4 separate regions of the Homo sapiens genome follow, and regions 1, 3 and 4 are each linked to region 2. Evidence: promoter capture Hi-C in 16 types of primary human blood cells and fetal thymus (Javierre and others, 2016). All regions are on one chromosome and are shown on one strand. The core of a region is centred on a gene start or on the middle of the fragment in contact, and the rest is flanking DNA. Distances in the headings are between cores, read along the strand shown. Region 1 holds the start of LOC124902985 (a long non-coding RNA gene). Region 2 holds the start of CRADD-AS1 (CRADD antisense RNA 1). Region 3 overlaps MRPL42 (mitochondrial ribosomal protein L42). Region 4 overlaps MRPL42 (mitochondrial ribosomal protein L42).

What was found. Contacts are between HindIII fragments. The CHiCAGO score rates a contact against its expected background, and 5 or more counts as called.
Region 1: a contact is called between a fragment that was not itself captured here and the fragment with the promoter of CRADD-AS1 in region 2, in 1 of 17 cell types (megakaryocytes). The highest score is 5.9, in megakaryocytes.
Region 3: a contact is called between a fragment that was not itself captured here and the fragment with the promoter of CRADD-AS1 in region 2, in 2 of 17 cell types (megakaryocytes and erythroblasts). The highest score is 8.1, in megakaryocytes.
Region 4: a contact is called between a fragment that was not itself captured here and the fragment with the promoter of CRADD-AS1 in region 2, in 1 of 17 cell types (megakaryocytes). The highest score is 5.5, in megakaryocytes.

What each region holds. Positions count from the first base shown.
Region 1 is chr12:93,531,565-93,538,232 of GRCh38, forward strand. LOC124902985 (a long non-coding RNA gene) reads right to left here and starts at 6,043. Exons shown (of 2, transcript XR_007063408.1): 1 at 5,253-6,043; 2 at 1,609-5,151. The HindIII fragment of the contact is 3,396 bases long and covers 1-3,152 here.
Region 2 is chr12:93,736,346-93,742,885 of GRCh38, forward strand. It overlaps CRADD-AS1 (CRADD antisense RNA 1), which reads right to left and starts at 1,478. Exons shown (of 3, transcript NR_110092.1): 1 at 1,354-1,478. The region is part of intron 2 of CRADD (CARD and death domain containing adaptor protein); the gene reads left to right. RefSeq lists enhancers at 4,973-5,929, 5,930-6,540 and silencers at 5,973-6,142, 6,173-6,262. The HindIII fragment of the contact is 4,271 bases long and covers 905-5,175 here.
Region 3 is chr12:93,507,699-93,513,764 of GRCh38, forward strand. MRPL42 (mitochondrial ribosomal protein L42) reads left to right here. Exons shown (of 6, transcript NM_014050.4): 6 at 1-6,066. It also overlaps the pseudogene RN7SL737P. Among named protein-coding and RNA genes, the nearest start is that of MRPL42, 43 kb to the left of the region's middle. The HindIII fragment of the contact is 1,356 bases long and covers 2,736-4,091 here.
Region 4 is chr12:93,490,355-93,497,318 of GRCh38, forward strand. The region is part of intron 5 of MRPL42 (mitochondrial ribosomal protein L42); the gene reads left to right. Among named protein-coding and RNA genes, the nearest start is that of MRPL42, 26 kb to the left of the region's middle. The HindIII fragment of the contact is 3,980 bases long and covers 1,178-5,157 here.

The DNA of each region.
Region 1 (6,668 bases), core at 205-2,704, 200 kb before region 2:
CTGTCTTCTGGAGGCTGCCGCCATCCTTGGCGTTCCTTAGCTCATAGGCGCATCCCTCTGATCTCTACCTCCATCTGCACAGCCCCTTCTCCATGTGTCTTCTCCCTTCTCTTCAAGTTTTTTTTTTTTCTTTTCTTTTCTTTTTTTTTTTTGAGTCAGGGTGCTCTGTTGCCCAGGCTGGAGTGCAGTGGCCCTATCATGGCTTACTGTAGCCTTGACTTCCAAGGCTCAGACAATCCTCCTGCCTCAGCCCCCCAAGTAGCTAGGACCACAGGCATGTGCCACAACGCCTGGCTGAATTTTCAATTTTTAGTAGAGATTGGGGGTCTCACTATGTTACCCAGGCTCATTTTGAACTCCTGGGCTAAAGCAATCCTCCTGCCTTGGCCTCCCAAAGTGCTGGGGTTACAGGTGTGAGCTACTATGCCTGGTCATGTCTCTTTTATGGTGATACTTACCACTGGATTTAGGGCCCACTCTAACCAGGATGTTAGGTCATATTCTCAGGTGAAAGGTGTTAGGGCATGGACATATCTTTTTATGTCTTTTTATGCCACAATTTAACCCACTGCAGTGGATGAGGGTTTATGACCGCCTGGCCCCATCTTCTCCCGGAGGTGATGGTGACTCTTGAGAGCTGACTCTTTCAAGTGGTGGCATGTGAAATCTTCACAGGTTCATTCATTCATTACTGTAATGGGCTGAATTGTGTTCTCCTGCTGCTCTCAAAGTCATATCTTGAAGTCCTAACTCAACACCCAGTACCTCAGAATGTGACTGTATTTAGAGGTGGGGTCTGTATTAGTCCATTTTTATGCTGCTGATAAAGACATACCTAAGACTGGGTAATTTATAAAGAAAAAGAGGTTTAATGGACTCACAGTTCCACATGGCTGGGGAAGGCCTCACAATCACGGAGGAAGGCGAAAGGCACATCTTACATCACAGCAGACAAGACAGAATCAGAACCAAGTGAAAGGGGTTCCCCCTTATAAAACCACCAGATCTCGTGAGACTTATTCAATACCATGAGAACAGTATGGGGGAAACTCCCCCCATGATTCAAGTATCTCCCATGGGGCCTGTCTCACAACAGGTGGGAATTATGGGAGCTACAATTCAAGATGAGATTTGGGTGGGGACACAGCTGAGCCATATCAGGGTCTTTAAATTGGTATTAAGGTTAAATGAGGTCATTGGGGTGGGCCCTGATGCAACATGACTGGTGTCCTTATAAGAAGGGGAGATGAGGACACGGGAGAAGGCAGCCATCTGCAAACCAAGGAGAGAGAACTCAGAAGAAATCAATGCTGCCAACAACTCGATCTCAGACTTCTAGCCTCCGGGACTATGACAAAGTATTTTTCTGTTGTTGAAGCCACTCAATCTGTGGTACTTTGTTATAGCAGCCCTTGGGAACTAGTGCAGTTACTAAGAACCCACTCTCTGCCACATCTTCCACAAGGCAGAGGCACATCCTCTGGGACTGGCTGTGAGTCTGGAGATAGTTACCATTTTAGTCCAGATAGTTAGCCCACCAAGTACCCCCAGAGAAGGACTATTTGTCTCTTACTAACATCTCACTGATATGGTTTATTATTCTAAAGATTTGGGTGTAAACAAGAGTTTATTATGTCTTCAAATATAAAAAGCTACAGTAAACAGCTGATTTTTGAAAGTATAATGAGGAAGATGCCATAGAAACTGTGAAAGAGGTCAGTGAAACTAGAGGAGTCCACCTGGGCTTAGATGATGTGATGTTTAAGCTGGGATCAAAAATGAATAAATCACAGGTGAACGAGGAGGAACGTTCCAGTCAGGGAAAAGTAAAAGTCTAAAGAAAGCCTGAGCAACATGGTGAAACCTGTCTCTAGGAAAAATAAAAAAAAGTAGCTGGGTGTGGTGGCGCACCTGTTGTTCCAGCCACTCAGGAGGCTGAAGTGGGAGGATTGTTTAAGACCGGGAGGTGGGGAGTGCACTGAGCTGTGATTGCACCACTGCACTCCATCCTGGGTGACAGAGTGAGACCCAGTCTCAAAAAAAAAAAGTCTAAAGCAGAAAAATATTCGAAAAACTGGAGAAAGCTGGGGAGATAGGCTGGGCCATACTGTGAAAGGACAATGAGAAGACCCCAAAGTGTTTTGGGCAGGGATGTTCTTATTGGAAAGATCACTCTGACTGCAGCGTGGACCCAGAGTTAGATAGGAGAAGACTAGAACCAGGAGACTCAGTTAGGAGGCCGTCCCAGGGGTCTGCAAAGGGGGATGGTGGATGGGGTGAGAGATTGAGTGCAGATAGAGAGAAATGGAAGGATTAGATATTTAGGAAGTTGAAGAAAACACATTTCCTCATTAGTTCAGTGTAGAAGGGTTGAGGAGGAGGAAGGAGTTAAGTATGATTTGGATAATTTGATGGGTAATGAGTCATTTACTTTGGGGAATATTGGGGATGCTTATGGGGAAAGGGATTATATTTATCAGGACTTCCATGATTGCAAGTGACAGAAACTGAATTCAAATAATTTAAGGATATAGGACTGATGTGAAGAAACAGAGCTACTCTACCCGCTTCATTTCTCTCTTTTTAAAATTTTCACTTCTCTTGGTGTGTTGGCCTCATTCTTTCCTATTGCAGACTTGCTTCCTCCAGGCAATGGAGAGAAGGTGGTATTGTTGCAACTTGACATTTACGTCTTCCTAGCTCAGGGACTCCAGAGAGAGAGCTTTTTTCTCCCAGCATCTTAGTTTGAATTTCACTGTGCAAGGTTTAGCCCCACCCAATTTTAACCTTTCTGAAATCGGAAGCGTCTTTTAATAGATGTCATCTTCCTTTTTTGTTGTTCCAATTGGCAGTATTATTTCTTAGTGATGGATAAAATAACAGTGTTTCTTACTGTAATGGAGTCTTAGATGTAATGAAATCCGTATAAAATTTTAGAGAAGGGCTCTGACTGGTTTGGTGTGTGTCATTGATTGCCACTGGGCCAATCATGGTGACCCAAGAGATAGGGGAGTAGATGATCAGTACTGGGATACAGGCCCATCCCTGTGGCCAGTGCCATAGGGTGCTATGATTGAAAATCCCATCTGAACTACACTTAGTAGGGAGTGGCAGTTGCTGCAAATAACAGAAATACTGCTGGGAACACATGAAGCTTGTCAGGCCCAAAAACATGATGAAGAGTGCTTGAGAAAACAGTGAGTTCAATGTAGACTGGTGGCTAAACTGGCTGGTGAGATACTGTATTAGTCTGTTCTCGCACTGCCATAAAGAACAACCTGAGACTGGGTTATTTATTTATTTAGAGACAGAGTCTCACTCTATCACTGAGGCTGGAGTGCAGTGGCACAATCTTGGCTCACTGCAGCCTCCACCACTCGGGTTCAAGCAATTCTTGTGTCTCAGCCTCCAGAGCAGCTGGGACTACAGGCGTGCGCCACCATGCCCAGCTAATTTTTGTATTTTTAGTAGAGACAGGGTCTCACCATGTTGACCAGGCTGGTCTTGAACTCCTGACCTCAGGTGATCCACCCACCTCGGCCTCCCAAAGTGCTGAGATGACAGGCATGAGCCACCGCACCCAGCCGAGACTGGGTACTTTATAAAGAAAAAGAGGTTTAATTGACTCATGGTCCCCAGGATGTACAGGAAGCATGGCTGGGGAGGCCTCAGGAAGCTTACAATCATGGTGGAAGGTGAAGGAGAAGCAGGCATGTCTTTCATGGCCAGAGAAGGAGGAGGAGATAGAGAAAGGGGAGGTGCTACACACTTTTTTTTTGTTTTTGTTTGTTTGTTTGTTTGTTTTTTTGAGACAGAGTCTCAGTCTATCGCCAGGCTGGAGTGCAGTGGCGCGATCTCGGCTCACTGCAAGCTCCGACACCCTGGTTCAAGCAATTCTCCTGCTTCAGCTTCCCAAGTAGCTGGGAATACAGGCACACACCCAGCTAATTTTTGTATTTTTAGTAGAGACGGCGTTTCACCATGTTGGCCTGGCTGGTCTCGAACTCCTGACCTCAGGTGATCCACCTGCCTCGGCCTCCCAAAATGCTGGCATTACAGGCATGAGTCACTGCGCCCGACTGCTACACACTTTTATAAACAACCAGACCTTGTGAGAACTTACTCATGGGAACAGCAAGGGGGAAATCTGCCCTCATGATTCAATCACCTCCCATCAGGCCCCCCTTCCAATGTTGAGTATTAGAATTCGATATGAGATTTGGACAGGGACACAGACCCAAATCATATCAGATACCCAAATGATGATGTCCCCTGCCCATTAAATTTGGCAGCAAATTTGTCACCTTCAACTTCACTGAGAGCATTTTCAATAGAGTGCAGGGCAGGAGGCCAGCTAAAGGGAGTTGAGGAATGAATGAGAATTGAGGAAAATGAGATAGGGTGGTCAGAAGCCAAAGAGAATTAAGGTTTGTTTGGGGACATTCTCTGCATTGAGGACAGAATTGCTCATGCAGCCCTTCAGGATCCAAGGCAATGCCCTAGAGCAGTAGTTCTCAAAGACCATCAGGAGCCACCACCTGGGATTTACTAGAAAAGCAAATTTTCGGGACCCACCCAAGACCTACTGAGTTAGAAACTCCAAGGTAGGGTCCTGTGATCTGCATTTTAACAAGCACTCCAGGTGATTTGGATGCAGGCTAAGTTTGAGAACTAGGGCCTTAGAAGCCTACAGCAACAGGCTTTTATGGAGCTGAACTATGATATTATCTGTCTCAGGGAGGCAAATGTGTGTTGTTAACATGTTTACTTCAGCTGGGCTTGCTGGAAGCAAAGAATCTGGTTTGAGTTGGGGCTAAGGGGGGTAAGGGCACAGATTTCTATAAAGCAATCAAATGAGAAAAAGGACTGTTGCCTTCCCAGGGCAGGATCCCTGCTGTATGAAATCCACCTATTTGGGTTTTTCAAGCAGATGAGCAATTTGACATCTTTCCACTCCTCTGAGCAACACAGTGTTAAGTGGATCTCTTGAAGGATGAGCCTGGTGCTTGGCTGAAGCTGTCACAAAGTGGCATTTCTCACAGTATTTGCAGAGGCCCTGAGAAATGTTAACCAGAGACTCAGTTTGCTCTTTGATTTCAGTCTTCACGGTTGAAAACCTTTCTTAAATGCATCTTTTTGCCACTTTAGAGGCTAGAATAAAAACCAAAAGAGCAAAGTTTGTGAAAGATTGTTTTATCTTTACAAATCAGAATGGGTTTAAGATGTAGCTCTCTAATGTCACTCTTACTCACTTGCATTCTGATTTGCTTTCTTGAGAGAAAGAGATTGGGATGCCTGGAGTTCCTGTTGGCTGCTGGGATTTGCATGTGATCCCCGACATAGACTATTTGTGACACACGCTGGTATGTGTGTCTGTAGCTGATGTCCTATTAATAGCTGATACATGAATGTCATTTGTTGGTTGGGCAGACACAGGAAGTGTGGCACGATGTAAATTCTGTGAAGACAGGGCTGGTTGATTCAATGTTTTATCCCCGATACCTAGAACAGCACTCAATAAACATGTTGAATGAATGAAAAAAATGATAATTATAATTGAATCCTGGATCACTCAGAAACCTACAGATTCAGGGTCACCAGTCTGAGCATTAATTCTCACCATCTGGGATCCTAAATATAGCATGTGTAGGCAGCACTGGCTGCATAATTTGTTGGGGCCAGTGCAGAATAAAAATGCAGAGCTTCTTGTTCAAAAATTAATAACTGTGAGACAGCATTAGCAGAGTATTCAGCCAAGCATGCAGCTCTTCTGAGTGTGGAGTCCTGTGCTCCTGCACAAGTCACACCCACGATGCCAGCCCAGCAGGTAAGGAATGGGACAAAATTTTACCAATTCTGGTAATTTTCTGGAAATGGCTTTACAATTTTTTCCAGAAATCCTTGAAATGACTTTTTAATTTAATTTAATTTTATTTTAAGATGGAATCTCACTCTGTTGCCCAAGCTGGAGTGCAGTGGCATGATCTCAGCTCACTGCAACCTCTGCCTCCCGGGTTCAAGTGATTCTCCTGCTTCAGTCCCCTGGGTAGCTGGGATTACAGGCACCCACCATGATGCCCAGCTATTATTATTATTATTATTATTTTTAGTGGAGATGAGATTTCACTAAACCCCGTTGGCCAGGCTGGTCTCGAACTCCTGACCTCAGGTGATCCACCTGCCTCGGCCTCCCAAAGTTCTAGGATTACAGGCATGAGCCACCGCGCCCGGCCATGACCTTTTAATGTAGTTATTTTCCATGAAAAAGAAAGTAACATTAAAAATGAAGGTTGTCTGTGATAGGACTGGATTATCCCAATTCTTTTCTTCCTCCTTGGAATGTATCCTTTCTTTGCTATGTTGCTCTACAATGCCTCCTACTGGAGAGATTAGAGTCTGTTTCCCCACTTCCTCATGTCGGGCTGGATCGTGAGGCTTGCTTTGGCCAATGGAATGTTAGTGGGCATGATCAGAGGCTTTAAATGTGCTCATGAGGTTTGGCTTTGCTTCTCAGGCTCTGTCCTTTACCATGAGAACTGTCCTGGGTAAGCTGTTGGCTCAAGCAAATGACAGAAATATGGGGTAGACTTGATCCCAATCAGCTGCCCCAGCTAACCTGCAGACCTACATAGAAAGATGGAAAAGAAATGCTTTTGGTAAGCCAACAA
Region 2 (6,540 bases), core at 228-2,727:
CTAGAAAAGAGTGACCACATTGATTTCTAAAGTCCTTATATTCAAAACTTTCTGTGCTGACCACCATCATTTATGTTTTTCCCATCTCTACTTAAAAACGTCAACTAGCCCCAACTTTTCCTCTAGTTATTTCTTTTATTAGATTTATTCTGTTCTCCACAATAAAATCTATCTTCTGTTCCCATCCATGACAATTCAAGTAGTTATAATGGGTGGATATAGGGTATGATAAATGTTGGTAAATCCACTGAGTTCCTTGAGTTCCACATTGATGTCTTTTAGGATGTGACTAGGGGTAGGCTAAATATTTTCTAGTTTCTCAGATCCTACCCCTGGTCTAATTATGATATAGAGGCCAGATTAGTGTCACCAGTTTTTCTTTCTCTTCTGAATGTAGAGCAAGAGCAAATGATTGCAGATAACAGCATGAGAAACTTAGGATCAACCACCAGCATCTAAGTGAGTCTTGTACTAGGCTCATTCCAGTTAAAAGCTGTAAATCATTTCATAGCCACATCAGTTTAGTTCTCTTTTATAGAACTCATTATGTGATACAAAATATGCAAGGCACTGGAGATACAAATACAATTATTTCCTCAAGGAACTTTGAGTTGAGCAAACATGGTACTGTCTGGTGAGACCAGACATATGAGCAAACATAGTACTTCTCTGGTGAGACCACATAGAGAAATGTACAAGGGGTAGAGGAGGCAGTGATGACTACTGGTCTGGGATAGTTGAGGGAAGGTGGCATAGGCTGCCTATTGAAGAATAAATTAGAGTTTGCTATGTGAACAAGGTTGCAGAGGGAATAGTATATGGAAAAACAGGGAGATGTGGACCCATATATTTTGTGCAGAGATGTCCAAGTACTTAGATATTACTATATTGCAAGTATGAAGAAAGCTTTTTTTGAGATCTGACAATGCCAAGGTAGGTTATGGACTCTCTTTGGAGTCCCCAAAATAAAAATAAAACATTCACATCTGCTAAAGATAGCTTGAATGGTATTTTTGCTAAAGGCAGAGTCATATACTGTATGTGCCAGATAAAAGTCAATGTCTATTATGTAAACATTGAGATTACATTAATTAATTTAAAAGAAAGGATTCAAACTTAGTACTAATCTGCATCTGGAGAACTAATCTGGTATGTGTTATTTTCAAGTCACCCAACTAAAGCAGTCTGTTGTATGGAACTCTGCTCCCTCTTAGTCAAACAAATGCAACCATAAAAAGCAGTGCAAATTCAGTGTCACCTTTTCTCCATGGGATTGGGTGGTTTCTTTTGGAGCAGAGAGAGTTTCCAGAGAATCAATATAGTAGCCAGAAGAAAAGTGGAGGGTGGCCTTACCTTGTCCACTCCGTGCTGCCTGAGGGTGAAATGGAACCTCGGATGTTGTACACCTTTAAATTGTCCATGTTGCCTGTTTCATAGCCTTCCCGGGCCAGGGAGCTGTGTAGTCAGTTTATAGTTCTAAGAACCAGAGCAGGACTGCTGTGCTTGTAATTGCATGCTTTTTATGGAACAGGCAATGTTGTTTAGGGAATTTGGGCAGCTGGAACCTGCCACATTAGCAATTTGGACTGAGGAAGAATTTCAGGGTGATAAAATAAAGCTCATTATATAAATTCACTTGGGTATTTAGGAGGCTGAGAAGGGAGAGGATGAGAGTATTCCAAAGGCAAGCAGGAGAGTTTCATAAACAGGTCCCTTTCTATTCGTTTTTACTGTAAGTGTTGAATTGAGCTAGGAGGATCACATGGCCCATTTTGCAAAGGGCAGTCATGTTCTGCTGTTTCTTAGCTGTTTTGTCAGTTGGAACAAAACAACAGCGCTGCTCATTTTTTGCAGGGTTAGAGGAAAAAGGAAGGACTGGCCGAAGAATGGGGTGGGGAGCTGGAGAAGAGAAGGGCCAAAAGTGTCAGACTGTGGGGATGAGGACCTGAAGGAGGCCCATGAGACCTCAGGCATGGGCCCTGGAACTCTGCCTTTTTGAAGCCTGTTGACAATCTCACCCTAATTTAACCCTTTGTGGAATTCTTCCATGAGATGCAGTTGCCATCATCAGGCTTCCTAGAGAATTGAGCCTGCCCACTCTGTTATGAAGTCTACCCAGAAGAGCTGGCAGAGTAGGCCCCTTCACTGGGACTGCAGCAACACTGACCAAAGCAAATCCTTCTCTTGGAAGAAACAAACTCATTCCTCACACCTGCCTCACCCCGCTCCCACCGCCACCCCCTGCACCACACGCCAGCCCTTAATAAAAACTAAAACTGATGTCATTGTAACCTTTGGTTATTCTTTTTTGTGCGTAAAGTGTCAACCTCCTGTTTTATTCTCATAAATAATGGAAATCTTAACTTCATTTCAGAAAATCACAAAAGATAACAGGGACCCTATTCAAACAGAATAAAAATAATTAGTAAGTCACAAACTCTGACTAGAAAGAAAAAGAGAAGAGAGAGAGGGAAGGAGAAAGAAAGAAGGAAAGAGAGGGAGAGAGAGAAACGAGGAAAGGAAGGAAGGAAGAAAGTGAAAGAAGAAAGTCCTCTTGTTGGTGTTAAAATGTGTCTTTAAGGGGAAACTTATCATTTAGGTTACTAATGGTTTCTTTCTTCATCATTTTAATTTCCATTAATAAAATGTGACTTTGAAAGGATGCAGGGAGTTTGGGAATAGAGAGTTTTATTTTTATTTGTTTATTTTTTTTCCCCTTCTCCCAGCAAAATACACAGGTATCTGACTATGTAGAGACACGAAGCCACCTATCCTGACCAAACTTGGCAGTGGTCAGGGGATAGGAGGAAGTGTAGTGCCATGGGATGGGCACCAGCCCTGATGAACTCGACTTTCTTTCCATTTCTCTCCTGCATCCAAATGTTGAGGAGACTTTGAGTAGTAGTGTAGCCTCTTTTCCTTTTAAAAATCTGCACCCTGCTTATTTCCAATACAGATATGAGGTTGGTACCCACTAATCTTAACAGGATATATATATATATATCTAAAGTATATAACATATTATTTAAAAACTAATGTATTATTTAGGTTTTATTAAATTATCCTGTTTTTAGGCTATGCTGATGGGCTAAATTTGCCTAAACTCCTGAGATTTAGATTCTCATTTATTGGCATTAGAGGAGTTCCTAAAAAAAAAAAGCTATTAAGATTAAATATCATAAAAATCTTTCTAGGAAAATATAATCAAAAGCATCAAGGCTGTCTCCTACAGTTAGTGGTTTCTATTATTTTGGTTCTCAGAGCTATGACAATGTCACTGGATTTCAAGAATTCAGAAAGACAAAAAGAAAACTCATAATTTTGAAATGGGGAAAGGGAAAGATCTTGGACATAGTCTTCTGTTTTTAAAATAGTCATTCTCATTTTAAAATAGGAAAAAAATTATTTTTCATTTAACAAAGCAAAAAACCCAGTCTGTACTTTTAAATTAATGCAAACATCAATATTTTATAGGGAGAACATTAATAATCATTGTGGAGCCCATTAATCACAATTCTGCTTTTGATTTATTGTAAATATGCCTCCCATTTTCCTCCTCATTACCAATCACCTTCTTTAATTATAAGAGGGCTTTCATTAAAACTTTTGAATCATTTATTTTGGAGCACCTAACTTTAGAAGACATTTATTGATTTTTATAGCATAAAATACAAATGTTTTTATTTTAGAAAACATCATAAACTAAAACTTTATTGGAGGAGTTTGGCTAAAGATTCAAAAATATATAGAAGTAAAAATATATTTAAAACTGCACAGTTTTTACAACAGCATGTATGGCATTTGGATTCAGAATTTTAACTAGCAGTAACCTCATCTGTTTAGTAATGAATTTTAAAATAGAAAAAAAATCTGCCAAAACAGACCAGTTGTTTATTAGCTATTTAACTTTGATGAGCTGAAATGAGATAGTGAAGCAGAATAATTAGAACAACTTTTTTTCTCAACATCTAAATATTTCTCTTTTTCATTAACATTTCAGTTAAGTTTGAAGAAATTCCAAAAATGAGATTCTCATTAACTAAAAGGAATTCTAAGGGTTATAAGCCATCTACATTTTTTCTATGACCTGAAGACTTTTTTTCGAAAACCAATTTTGGGGGAGGATTGTCAGATTTACCTAAGGTTTTGGTTTTTAATTTAAAAAAATTTAAAGAAACTATCTTAGTGATTTTTGTCATCATTTTTATTTGTTGCCATGATTAATATATGGAAATAAGATAAATTGGATTCTATTTCTGTGAAAGCCATATTCTTAACATCAATGCCTACCTAAAAAATATACGAGTCACACTTGATCATTCAGAATCATTTTGAAATTCTCTGGTAATCTTTTAAAAAGCCAGCGTTGACTAGTATTATGTGGCTAGTTATATTTATTACAGCAGTCTAGTTATTGTTTGTGTAACTATAGTTTTTTTCTAATAGAAATAAAATGTCTATTTGCAGGATAAAAAGAAGTATGTATATTTGATGATTTTGTTGTAGAAAATACTTAATACCTTTTAAAAGCTGTTTGACTTTCGGTTTTAAAACAGCTGTGTAGCTTGGTGAGTCCTGCAGATTCCGGCTTTCTCTGTGGCCTTTGAGCCAAGTAATTTTTTGCAACATTTTCCTTTGCTTTCTTATAAACACTCAAAAATTATACTTGCTTTTCCTGAAGGCCAGCTATTAAGTTAGAAAGCACCAAAGGTGTTATGAAATTGCCCTTTATTTTTTCGTACATCAGGGAGGAATGATAGATTTTGTGTATCTCTTGTGTGTCATTAGAACAGAAATATTTAGGGCTGCTAACTCCCGGAGTTGTGTACTTACCCTTATTACAGATGCAATGATTTTGTCTGACTGCATTGCTTTAAGATGAGTTTTATTGCTTTCATGCTTAGGCAAGGATATTTAATTTTATTTGTGTTTAGAGTATCTTGTTGTAATATACTTCTCCCCCATCTTGTGCTCCTAAATTTGGGATAAGCATAGAATCCTTTTAAGAATGTAGGTTATTTTCCAGTTTACTAGAAAGCATGACACATATAAATTAGCGACTAAGGATTATAGCGTCCTTTCCTAAAGGTTATCATGAAAAAAAGTTAAAATGTCAAAGAAGATCCTACTCCAGTAAAAACAATTTACTCTGTAAAATCCTGATACCTCATAGGAAGCTTTGGATCTTGTTCTCAGCTACCAAAATTCTTTAAATATGAAAGTTAACATGACAGGAAAGTGGAATACACTCTGTGCTGAAGACCCACTGTTCAAGGTGTGTGGTTATTAATCTGGGTTTGAATTTACAAATTATATGGTCTGATTAATTTGTAGATAGGGGTCGGTGGAGGTTAGACGATGGGCTTTAGAACAAAGAGGCTGATAAAATACTACTCACAAGCCTTTCTGCTTGTTTGTGACTCTCTGGAAATGCCATTAGATAGTTCTCATAGCTATGGTCAAAATAAGTAGGCTTAGAAATAAAAGACATTTTCTCCCCTGTAAAAGGAGGCGGCTGGCCTGTGCTCTTTCTAGGCTCTTCCCAGAGACAGCAACCTCGGCTTCTGAACCCTTAGTGCTCATTCTATGCTCCACCGCGTCTCCTCTACACGCCATGATCTTTGTTATCTGATTTGCTAGCCATTGTTATGGAAAGTTCTCGACTGTAATGCAAAAAGCTCAGCCTTGGGTCCTTGCTAATGTCAGCAACCCAAAGGCGCCCCTCAAACCACCTCGAAAAGAAAAATCCTTTAAAAGATGTCAAACTCTCCTTTCATGTTAGCCCAAAATGAAGTTCCCGAGCAGCATCTGGCAGAGCAGGGTAATTCAATCTATTTTAATGCAAAGATTTTCCAAGAAGGCAGGAAGCCGTCAAGGAGAAGGCTTTGAGGCATCTGCTGTTTTGTTTCCAGATCCCTTGTGTTAATTTAATGTTTCTAGGGAACCCGGCTCTTTCTTTTTTCTCGGAATCCCTGCTCTAGGAACTGGTGAGTGCGGGGGCGCTGTGGGAGCTGCAGATAAGCCAGCGCTTGGCCGGGCACCCGCGGGCCGCGCAGCGGGGCAGGGAGGCGCGCGGCCCCAGCCGCCCTAGGGCGCCGGCTGCCTCTGCGGGCCCCGGCTGCCCAGCCCAGCGCGGGGAGGCGGCGCCGACTGCCGGGGGGCGCCTGCAAGACCTGTTTATTTGCATTTGTCCAATTTGGCTCAAGTGAAAGGTAAATACGGAGCGATCAGCTTGTCCTCACTCCAGCAAAACCAGGGAAACTCAGCTCCATCTCCAGGAAACAAACCCAACCCAAACCTGAGTGAAACGTAAATCTTGCATAAACAAACACGTTCTTTTGCTTCTGGGAAGGAACACCGGAGAAATGGGCATTCCTTCCGACTGCCCGCCTCCCACTGTCGGTAAAAATGAGCCGTCACAGGTTGCCGGCAATTTCTTGTTGTGTCCCGAGCCATTCCGCGGATCTTGTTTTGAAGGGGCGAGTCAGGTGTTTGTGCGGCTCCAGATCCTGAACAGGTTATGCGCTGGGTCCTTCCTTA
Region 3 (6,066 bases), core at 2,164-4,663, 230 kb before region 2:
ATGGTGTCACTCATATGTCTGGTATTGAGTGACTGTCACCTGGGGCATTAGGGGGACTGTGTCTCTCATCATCCAGCAAGCTAGGCCTGGATTCTTCACATGGCTTTAGGATTTCAAGAGTATGAGATTGGGGCTGGGCATGATGACTCACACCTGTAATCCCAGCACTTTGGGAGGCCAAGGTTGGGGGATTTCTTGAGCCCAGGAGTTCAAGACCAGCCTGGGCAACATAGTGAGAGCCCATCTGTAAAAAAAAAAATTTTTTGAGATGGAGTTTCGCCCTTGTTGCCCAGGCTGGAGTGCAATGGCGCAATCTCAGCCCACCAGAACCTTTGCCTCTTGGGTTCAAGCGATTCTCCTGCCTCAGTCTCCTGAGTAGCTGAGATTACAGGCATGAGCCACCACGCCCAGCTAATTTTGTATTTTTAGTAGAGATGGGTTTCTCCGTGTTGGTCAGGCTGGTCTTGAATTCCCCACCTCAGGTGATCTGCCTGCCTCAGCCTCCCAAAGTGCTGGGATTACAGGTGTGAGCCACCACGCCTGGTCTTCTACAAAAAAATTTTAAAAAATTAGCTGGGGGTGGGGAGGGTGGGGTGGTGCTGCATGCCTGTAGTCCCAGCTATTTGGGAGGCTGAGATGGGAGGATTGCTTGAGCCCATGAGATTGAGGCTGTAGTGAGCCATGATTGTGCCACTGCACTCTAGGCTGGGCAACAGAACAAGCACCTGTATCAAAACAAACAAAAAAGTGCAAGATTGGAAGCTTCGAGGCTTCTTGAGGCCTAGTCTCAGAACTGGCACAATATCACTTCATAAGGCTATCTCAGATTCAAGGGAGTAAGAGGAGAGATGCTACCTATTAAAAGGAGAAGCAGCAAATACTATGGCCATTCTCTTCACAATAGTTGTCACCAAAACGTAATCGATTTGTTTATGGGTTTACATTGTCATGTCTCCACAGGACAATGCACATGGTATGTTTGTCAGAACCCAGTTGGAGTTTTGTTTCCCAGCATCCAAAGGAAATCCCTAACTTTCATTTTTTCTTCCCGTAAGCAGCCCCGAACACTTACTTATAAGCCATCTCTACCTGAATTAGCAATCATGGATAAGCTCAATAACTGATCATTTCCTTATCAGTTTAAACCATATATATTTTAACACTGTCTCTTTTTCACACACACTAGTTAGCTAAGAATGAGCTGGGGGGCTGGGCGTGGTAGTTCACACCTGTAATCCCAGCACTTTAGGAGGCGGAGGTGGGCGGATCACTTGAGGTCAGGAGTTTGAGACCAGCCTAGCTAACATGGTGAAACCCCGTCTCTACTAAAAATGCAAAAATTAGCTGGGTGTGGTGGCAGGCATCTGTAATCCTAGCTACTCAGGAGGCTGAGGCAGGAGAATCCCTTGAACCCAGGAGGCAGAGGTTGCAGTGGGCCAAGATCACACCACTGCACTCCAGTCTGGGTGATAAAACGAGATTCCGTCTCAAAAAAAAAAAAAAAACTGCCAAAACGCTTTTTGCAAAGTGGTTGTACCATTTTATATTCTCACCACCATGAATGAAAGTTCCAATTGCTATATTCTTGCCCTCATTTGATAATATTTTTAGTTTTAGCCATTCTAATGGATATATAGTAATAATTTGATGGTTTTAATTTGCATTTCTCTGATGATCAATAACATTAAGTTTTGATTCAGGTACTTGTTGGGCACTCATATCTTTGGTGAAATATCTGTTCAAATCATTTGCTCTTTTTTTTTTCTTAGCACTTAAAAAAGACTTTTTGCCAGGCACAGTGGCACATGCCTGTAGACCTAGCTACTCAGGAGGCTAAGACAGGAGGATCACTTGAGTCCAGAAGTTCTGGGTTGTAGTGAGCTATGTCAATCAGGTGTTTGCACTAAGTTCAGCATAAATGTAGTGACCTCCTGGGTCACTGGGACCCAGAGTTGCCTAAGGAGCGTCAGAAGTGGAGCAGGTCAAAACTCCTGTGCTGATCAGTAGTGGGATCACACCTGTGAATAGCCACTGCACTGCAGCCTGGGCAACATAGTGAGATCCTCATCTCCTGAAAAAAAAAAAAAACTTTAGTTTTTAAAAGTAGTTTTAGGTTCTGAGCAAAATTGAGAGGAGGGTACAGAAATAACTTATATATCCTCAGTGCTCCCCTCCCCCATGCCTCCCTCATCACCATCCCCCAGCAGAGTGGCACATTGGTTACAATTGATAAACCTACACTGACACATCATTATCACCCAAAGCCTATTGTTTCCATTAGGGTTCACTCTTGGTGCTGTACAATCTATGGGTTTGAACAAAGGTACAATGACATGTATCCATCTTTATAGTCATGCAGAGTCTACACTGTCCTAAAAACCCTTGGCTCTGCCTCTTCGTCGTGTCCTCCCCACTGACCCCCGGCTACCACTGGTCTTTTCACTGTCTCCGTAAGTTTTTCCTTTTTCAGAACGCCATATAGTTGGAATCATAAAGTATATATAGCCTTTTCACATTGGTTTCTTTCACTGGATAATATGCATTTGTTTCCTCTATGTCTTTTCACAGTTTGATAGCTCATTTCTTTTTAGCATCGAGTAATACTCCATTGTCTGGGTGTACAACAGTTTATCCATTCACCTGCTGAAGGACATCTTGGTTGATTGCTTCCAAGTTTTGGCAATTATGAATAAAATTGCTATAGATATCCATGTGTAGGTTTTTGTGTCCATTTAAGCTTTCAACTCCTTTGGGTAAATACCAAAGAGCACAATTGTTGGATTGAATGCTAAGAGAATGTTTCGTTTTGTAAAAAACCACCAAACTGTCCTACAGAGAGGCTGTACCATTTTGCATTCCCACCAGCAGTGAATAAGGGTTCCTATTGCTCAACATCCCTGTCAGCACTTGGTGTTAGTGTTCTGAATTTTGGCCATTCTAAAAGGTGTGTAGTGGTGTCTCACTTGTTTTGTGTTTTTCTCTGCTCAGACAGCTCATCCACATCACATTTATTTTAATTTGCATTTCCCTGATAATATGTGATATGGAACATCTATTTACTCATTATTTTTTCTTCTTATGATTGAAGTTATAATATTTCTTTAAATATTTTGGATAAATCTTTTGTCAGATATATGCACTGGAAATATTTTTATGGGGGACCAGTGTTAAGATTAGATCTGTTTAAAGAGAAAGGAGAGAAAGTTTCAGGCAGGGAATGCAATCGATGTGAAGGTTTGGGGTAATTTGTTTCATTTATCTTTAACACCATGTTATGGATGGCAAAATAACTTCACTGGCTTTTTTTATCAAGAAAAGACTTACCTTTTCTGAATGCAACAGTATTAGTAAACCTAATGGTGACAATAAAAGCGATTCTGAATAAATGAAAACCAATAGATTGTTCTAGTTTTACTCATAAATATAATTCTTCATATACTGAGTTCAGTTTTTTAGCCATAAATGAAGACATGGGAAAACCATAACATGTTATTTGCTGAGAAGTTCTGGCAAATGAAGCAATAAAATAATCAAAACTAAATCAACATTTAAATACAGAACATAAAGAGATAAATCCAAAACCAGAAGATCTCTTTGAAAGAAAAACCTAAGTAATTAAAAAACTGAAAGCACAGATATTCATTATTTCACAAATAAACGTTAATGCTTTTTAGACATCTTTAAGCAACTTTAGATTGCTAAAACTAAAAAATGCAATTAAGACAATAATCTTATATATAGACAATAATTGTCTTAATAATAATCAGCATCAAAGATTCTTAGAAATGTTGGGAGACTGTGTGGCAAAGAAAGTACTTCAATTACCAGTTACCAACACACAACAATTTGAAATATCCAGGAAGATCAACCCATAGAACAAAGAAAGCTAATAAATTACCTTTTCTTGCAATTGGTTTGATGTACCATTAATATATAGATATTACTAATATGGCAATTAGTTTATATGCTATTTGAATATGATAGTAATATGAAGGAAGATTCTCTTTTTTCCACTTCATTGCCAACAAACAGCTAACTCTAAACAACAGTAAAGTGTGGAATAAATTACTTTGTTAATTAATGTGGTTTGAAGCTTTGTAGGAATCCAATTGGATGGATAGCAGCAGTGGTAAGAGAACATTCCGGAATAATTACCTAAATTAAGGAGCTTGCCCTAGAATGTAAATCAACCTACTATATCTTTTTATTTGAAAAAGTCTTGGTAGAAAAAGCATATCAACTGAACTGTACAGTGTGTTCAGTGACTTAGTAAAGAACATAACTTGTGTAAAGGCTAATGCAATAAGTTTGAGATTGTTCTCTTTATGTAATAGTTTGGAAAACAAACAACTGTGATTACATTTAGAGATATGATGATTATCTAGAGGGAAAGTTCTGTTGAGCATATTTGAACATTTAATTATTGCTGCAAGAAGCCAGTTTGGTCCCAGCTTTATAAAGATATACATTGGGCTGGGTGCGGTGGCTCATGCCTGTAATCCCAGCACTTTGGGAGGCCGAGGCAGGCGGATCACCTGAGGTCAGAGGTTCGAGACCAGCCTGGCCAACATGGTGAAACCCCATCTCTACTAAAAATACAAAAATTAGCTGGGCGTGGTGGCACACACCTGTATTCCTTGCTACTCGGGAGGCTAAGGCAGGAGAATCGCTTGAACCCAGGAAGCAGAGGTTGCAGTGAGCCAAGATTGTGCCACTGCACACCAGCCTGGATAAAAAGAGTGAAACTCTGCCTCAAAATAAAATAATAAAATGAAATAAAGATATAAATTGGCCAGCTAGAGTTACCTGAAGTTACTATCTTCAATTATCTGAAGACAGTTCTGATAGCTTCAGAATTCTTTCATACAAGGCAGGAATGCAACTTGTTTTTTAATGGCAGATAAAATCAAAGAGCAAAAGCAAAAGGTAGAAGCTTGAAAGACCAGAGTTGCTACAGATTGTTATTACATGTTCCATAATTTAACAATTGTCATTGAAGTTGGTGATTGTCTTGATATTGCACATCTGTAAGAAGTAATCAAACTATTGTGAATTTGATAGAATGCTTTAAGTTTTATTTTCCAACAAAAGAATGTCTACATACGGCAAATTCATAGATCTGGAATCCATTTATGTCATCAAAAGAGGATTTAAATTTAATTGTAAGCTTATATGATACATTGTTCTAACTGGCAACTAATGAAGGATTAAAAATGAATTTTGAAAATACCACACCACTTGCTTCATTTTGGATAAAAGTTAAAAGTGAATATTCTGAGTATGCTGAAATTAGTTTAAAAACTTTTTTTTCCCATTCCGACCATTATCCCTTTGTAAATCTGGTTTCATCTTATGAATAATATTTTTTAAAAACCATGGAAACAGTTTAGATATACATCAATCCATGAAAGTAGTAGTATTGTCAATCTACCCTGGATTACATATTTTAACGAGAAAGAAACCAGCTCATTTGTGACATTTAGAATTTTTTTTTTTTTTTTTTTTTTTTGAGAGAGAGGGTCTCATTCATTTTATTGCCCAGGCTGGAGTGCAGTGGTGCAATCGTAGCTCACTGTAACCTTGAACTTCTGGGCTCAAGCAATCCTCTCACCTCAGCCTGCAGCTGGAGCTTCAGGTGTCTGCCATCACGCCTGGCAAATTTATTTTTTGTAGAGACCAAGTCTCCTTGTGTTACCCAGGTTGGTATCAAACTCCTGGTCTCAAGTGATCCTCCCATCTCGGCCCCCACAAGTGTTGAGATGACAGGTGTGAGCCACCTTGCTTGACCTAAAAACTTTTGAATATTAATATGCATTGTGTTTATTCAAAGTATATCTAATGGTCTAATAAACAGAATCACTACTTCAATTATAATCTTCAGTTATAATTGAAGAATGACAAAAAGTTGAGTTATAGAAATTATATTAATCTTAAATTCACATTTTCAGTGAAAGTTTTTAAATAATTTTTTCTCTTTCCGTTTTATGTGTGTTCCAATTCTATTTATTGAAATTTAATTTTATATCCATTAACATAATTAAAAATTGGGGCTTTTAAAAAATGTTT
Region 4 (6,964 bases), core at 1,918-4,417, 240 kb before region 2:
CGTTTTTTAATTGTAAAGTGACTTTAATTAGATTATCCCAATATATATCCTAATAAAGAGCTTGGCAGAGAAACCCCAGAGACTAGTTTATGTGTATAAAGAGAAATTTTATCTGTAGGCCTTGTCCTTGTAGATGTATCATCTTGCTGAATTTTAAATATGCCTATGTGTCATCACTTATCATTCAACACATATTTATTTGATATCTACATATGTATTTTGGATTAATGTGAGTCATTTTCAAGTGTTGGTTTCTGGATGTCAGTGGCCATTTCTTTCTTTTTGTCTGTCTATCTGTCCATCTGTCCATTCATCCATTGATTCATTCATTCATTCTCAGCTTGTTTTCCCTAGTCAGACCATTTCATTTTAAACCTCATTTAATATATAGAAGGATGATTTACTAAATATTTCACAGTTCTTAAGTTACAGCAGTCAAAAGAATGGGACTCATTATGAATTTAATAACTGGGGGTATATAACTTCTTCTTAAATAAGTTTTTATTAAAAGGTATAAAACACATTTTATTTTTATTTTTATTTTTTATTTTTCTGAGACAGAGTCTTGCTGTGTCGCCCAGGCTGGAGTGCAGTGGTGCCATCTCGGCTCACTGCAACCTCCGCCTCCCGGATTCAAGCGATTCTAGTGCCTCAGCCTCCCAAGTAACTGGGACTACAGGTGCACATCACCATGCCTGGCTGTTTTTTGTATTTTTAGTAGAGACGGGGTTTCACCATGTTGGCCAGGCTGGTCTCAAACTCCAGACTTCAAGTGATCCCACTGCCTTGGGCTCCCAAAGTGCTGGGATTACAGGTGTGAGCCACCATGCCTGGCCAAAACACACATTTTTAAAAAGTATTTTTAAACTATGCAGAAGTATTTAAAATATAAAATAGAAGTGTTCTCTATTTCTGTGTTCTCCATAGGGAATTGGGTATAATATGAGGTAGGACTATTCATAGAGGTAGAGGTTAACCTACCTAGATGTTGAACATCTTTTCATGTGCTTATTGGCCATTCATATGTTTGGGTTTTGGTTTTTGTTTGTTTTCAGTTAAGTATCTGTAGAAATATTTTGCCTATTTTTTAAAAAGCAAATTGGTTGTCTTATTAAGGTATAAAACTTAGAGACCAAAGTGCTATATGAGCTATATGCTTTGTAAATTTTTTTATCTAAGCTTGCCTTTCACTATGTATATATGTATGTATGTATTTTAATAGATGCTGTCTTAGATGTGGTTTCCTAGGAGACCCTAAGATAAGGATTTTTTTTTTGTTGTTTTATTTCAATTTTTAGCTTCAGAGGGTACACAAGGGTATATTGTGTGATGCTGAGGTTTGGAGTATGATTGAACCCATCACCCAGGCAGTGAGGTAGTGCCCAATAGGTAGTTCTTCAGCTTTCTCTCACCTCTTTCCCTCCTGTCTGTTGTCCCCAGTGTTTTTTGTTTCCATCTTTGTGTCCGTGTGTACCCAGTGTTTGGCTCCCACTTACACGTGAGAACGTGTGGTATTTGGTTTTCTGTTTCTGTGTTAATTCGCTTAGGATAATGGCTTCCAGCTGCATCTGTGCTGCTGCAAAGGACATGATTTTGTTCTTTTTTTATGTCTGTATAGTATTCCATGGTGTATGTGTACCACATTTTCTTTATCCAGTTCACCATTGACAGGCACCTGGATTGATTCCATGTCTTTGCTGTTGTGAGTAGTGCTACAGTGAACATACAATTACATGTGTCTTTTTGGTGGAACAGTTTCTATTCCTTTGGGTATTTACCTAGTAATGGGATTGGTGGGTCGAATGGGAGTTCTGTTTTTAGTTCTTTGAGAAATCTCCAAATTGCTTTCCACAGTGGCTGAACTAATTTACATTCCCACCAATAGTATGTAAGCATTTGCTTTTCTTTGCAGCCTTGCCAACATTTATTATTTTTATCTATTTTTAATAATAGCCATTCTAACTAGTATCAGCTGGTATCACACTGTGATTTTTTTAAATTTGCATTTCTCTGATGATTAGTGATGTTGAGCATTTTTTCATATGTTTGTTGGCTGCTTGTATGTCTTCTTTTGAGAAGTGTCTGTTCATGTTCCCTAGCCCACTTTTTAATGGAATTACTTATTTTTGCTTGTTGATTTAAGTTCCTTACAGATTCTGGTTCTAGAAGGGGTTTGGGAAGTCATTAACCTCTTGAAATTATTTGTAAAAATTTTGAATAGGTGTTTTTCTGGGCAGTGGATTCAAAACTTTTATCAGACTCTCAATGAAGTATGAGACCTTCAGAATGCTAAGAACTGTCCATTAAAAGTGTCATTCAGCATACACTGTTCAATTATATTTACTACTCAAGACTGAAAATGTTTGAGACTCTGATAGCCCTAAACTGAACAAAGTCAAGTTCTAAAATATGCTCAATAAATGTCAAATAGCATTTACACATATCTTATCATGCATGAATTTTAATGTGCACTACAATCACTAGCCAAAAGCAAGCACCTTAATTTTACGATGACCTTATTCTATCATCCAGATTGGGAACCTTGCAGACACTATTAATTAATACAAGAGTTAAATTGAGATTGCTCCTGGCAAACCAAGTTATATTGTTACACTTCTTAGATTACACAATGACTCAGTGACATCTGGAACACTGGTCTACAGCTCTTAACCCAGAAAACTTTACCTCCTGGTTCATACTAAGCTAGGTAATCAAATCTGTTTCCTACTGATGGAAGTAGCTAATTTTTGTTGTCTCCATGGGAAAATATTAAAGTAGTTTCTTAAATAAAGTGGTACTATTATTCATGCATTTGTAAGATTGCCCTATATTTCAGAAATTTAGAATTATTTTCTCCTGCCTGCCTGCCTGCCTGCCTCCCTCCCCCGACCCCCTCTCTTTTTCTCTCCTCCTTTCTTTCTTAGAGTCACGGTCTTGCTCTAACACCCAGGATGGAGTGTAATGACACAATCATAGCTCACTGCACCCTCAAGCTCCTGGGCTCAAGTGATCCTCCCATCTCAGTCTTCTGAGTAGGTAGGACTACAGGCATGCACCACCATGCCCAGCTAATTTTTAAAAATCGTGGGGGCTGGGCACAGTGGCTCATCCCTGTAATTCCAGCACTCTGGTAGGCCAAGGTGGGCAGATCAGTTGAGCCCAGGAGTTCGAGACCAGCCTGGGCAACATGGTGAAACCACATCTCTACAAAAAATTTAAAAAGTAGCCAGGCATGGTGGTATGCATCTGTAGTCCCAGCTACTCAGGAGGCTGAGGCAGGAGAATCTCTTGAACCTGGGAGGCGAAGGTTGTAGTGAGCCGAGATCAGGTCACTGCATTCCAGTTTGGGTGACAGGGCAAGACCCTGTCTCAAAAAAAAAAAAAAAAAAAAAAAAAGTTATTATGAGAATCAGAATCATTTATCCATTTTAAAATGTGTGAGCACCTACTATGTGTAGATCCTAATGATTCTGTAGTACACAAAACAAGATAAAAATCCCGACTTTCATGGATCTTACATTCCAATACAGGAGATAGGAAAATAAGATGAATAAGCTGGTCAGGGAAGCCTTCATTGAGTAAAAACCTGAAGGAAGTAAGAGAGCTAGCTTTACTGATACTGTGAGAAAGAGTGTTCTATGCAGACAAACAGCAAGTATAAAAGCCCTGAGATGGAAGGAAGGACATGTTCAAAAGCAAAAAAGAGGCCATGTAGCCAGAATACATGAACAAGGAAAAGACAGTAGGGCATGAGAGCAGAGAGGTAATGCAGGACCAAATCATGTAGGTAGTTGTAGGCCTAGAGTGTTTCTGAGTGAGATAGGAAGCTGTTTGAGGATTTTCAACAGAAAAATTACAAGAACCAAGGGAAGTGTTAACAGTAGGTTACTCTGGCTGCTACGCTACAAACAGACTGCAGCAAAGCAAAGGAAGCAGCTGGGAGACCAGTTAGGAAGTTATTTCAACAAAACAGGCAAGAATGATGATTTGGACTAGGATAGCGGCAGAGGGAATGGTGACAAATGGTCAAATCTAGATACATTTTGGAGATAGAGCTAACAAGATTCGCTAATAGACCAGATGTTGGGTATGAGACAGAGAGAGGAGTCAAGAGTGGTACCAAGGTTTTTGGCCCAAGCACCTAGAAGAATAGAACTGGCATTAACTGAGAGAGCAGGCTGCAGGAGAAGCTGGTTTGTGGAGGACCATCAGAAGCACAGTTAGACACATACCAAGTTAAGGATACCTACTACACATGTCAAGTAGGCAGTTGGATATGTAAGTCTAGAGGTCAAGGGACAGGTCTTGACCACAGATGGATTTGGAAGTCATCATCACACAGATGGTATTTAATGCCATGGGACTGGACGAGATTCCTGTCCTAGAGAATGGAACAGAAAAGTGGAGCAGTCCAAGGACTGATTCTTGGGGCACTCCAAAATCTAGAGACAAGGGAGATGAAAGGGAAGCACCAAGATAAATCAAGATAGTATATTAACTTTAGATATGTAAAAAGAATTTCAACCGTTACTAAGGTCGAATTAATGAGAAAAGTAACAGACACACCATCAGGAACTCTAGAGATATAGTGATACAGGGGTCCCCAGAGAAACTCCGACCAGCTTGTGCACTGGGAAAATGGGGTGGAGCTTCGTGAAGTTCACGCTGTTTGCAGGGAAAAGGAGCCTGGCCTCTGTGATCTGGTGTGGTAACCTGGGGATTCAATCTGTGAGATGTGGGCCTGTTAACAGGAACCTCTCTTGCTTTGCTGAGTTTTTTCCTTTTCACCCAATAAACCCTGTCCTTCCTCACCCTTCAAATTGTCTGTGAGCCTAATTTTTTGTGGTTGTGTGTCTTTAGCTGACCTAAGAAAAAAGTCCTACAATAATAATATTGCTCAAATGATGTGTTCTAGGAAGATTATATTAGAAGGAATACTTTATGACTTGATTTTTTTTCATGTCAACTAAGGAAGACTAAAGACTCAGCCTCCTAAGTAGCTGGGACTACAGAAGCATACTACCATACCTGGCTGATTTTTTTGTTGTTGTTTGTATTTTTTGGAGAGATAGGGTTTGCCATGTTGCCCATGCTGGTCTCCAACTGCTGGGCTCAAGCAATCTGTCCACCTTGGCCTCCCAAAGTGCTGGGATTACAAGCTTGTAATCCTGGCCCACACATTTAATAGTAAACACTTCAGATTTTCAGACATGAGATAATCTAATCAACGATACTTATTAGCCACTGGCCTATTCAGCATTGATTCTTTAGAGTCATACAACTTACACTCCCAGTTCACCCACCTTGGGTGAGGCCAATAATTAGACTCAGGTAGCTTCAAGACTGAATGAAGTGGGGCAACACTTCTGGATCATTAAGGATCTGCTGACCTTGATTAAGAATCTGATAATGAGGAACATCTTAACCCACCTGTGACCCACCTAGATAAAATGGATAAACCCATGTAACCTGGTAGCTGAACTCTGGAAATAAAACTTCCAAGAATCACTGGGAAATTTACCAGTGCATCCTCAAAACTTCCATAAAGTATGGTTTCAAAGAGGAACTGAACACCTTAAAGAAGCTGTGAAGACAATTAGGTGAGATAGTATTCCATCAGACAATCATTTAATACCCATACATTGTATTAAGGATACTGTGTTAGAATTATTGTGGAAAATTACACAACAGATGTTTGGGTTTTTTGTTTTTGTTTTTGTTTGACACGGAGTCTTGCTTTGTCACCTAGGCTGGAGCGCAGTTGCACAATCTCAGCTAACTGCAGCCACCACCTCCTGAGTTCAAGCAATTCTCCTGCCTCAGCCTCCCGAGTACCTGGGATTACAGGCAGTTACCACAACACCCGGCTAATTTTTGTATTTTTAGTAAAGGCAGGGTTTCGCCATGTTGGCCAGGCTGGTCTTGAACTCCTGACCTCAAGCGATCCACCCACCTCGGGCTCCCAAAGTGCTAAGATTACAAGCATGAGCCACCACGCCCAGACAACATCCTTAACAAAGAGAAAATACTCCAGAGAAGATTTAACCAAAAAAAGTCACCTAAAAATGTAAATATAACATTAATAGATACCTAATAAACTATAATTATATGCAGTTGTGCTAAGAGGGACAGTAGATATTCAAAGTGAATATAAAAAAGTAAAATGTCATGAAGAAAGTAAGATAAGAGCAAATAGCAGAGGAAGAGTAAAAGTGCTGAAAACTGAGGGATAAAGCATTTGAAATAGCTTGATGTTGAAATGAGATGGGGCACTGAGGTCAGATTAGGTAAAAAAAAAAAAAAAAAAAAAAGGCAAGCTCCAACTATATGCTGCCTATAAGAAATCCACTTTAAAAATAAAGACAGCCAGGTTAAAAGTAATACAGAAATGACAAAGGTGACATCACAACCAATCCCAGAGAAATACAACAGATTCTCAGAGACTATTTTTTTTGGGGGGGTTTGGGGGCGGGTGGGGACGGAGTTCTGCTCTTGTCCCCCAGCCTGGAGTGCAATGGCACAATCTAGGCTCACTGTAACCTCCGTCTCCCAGGTACAAGTGATTCCTCAGAGACTATTATTAGGAACACTTCAAGCACACAACTAGAAAATCTAGAGGCAATGGACAAATTCCTGAAAACATACAACCTCGCATGTTTGAATCAGGAAGAAACTGAAACCCTGAACAGATGAATAATGAATTCTGAAACTGAATCAGTAATAAAAAAACAACAACCAAAAAGCTCTGGACCAGACAGATCCACAGCTGAATTCTACCAGATGTGCAAAGAGCCAGTACCAATCCTACTGATACTATTCCCCCAACAACAACAACAAAAAATCGAGGAGGAAGGACTCCTCCCCAACTCATTCTACAAAAACGGCATCATCCTGATACCCAAATCTGACAGAGACATAACAGAAAAACAAAACTATGGGCCAGTATCCCTGATAAACATGGATG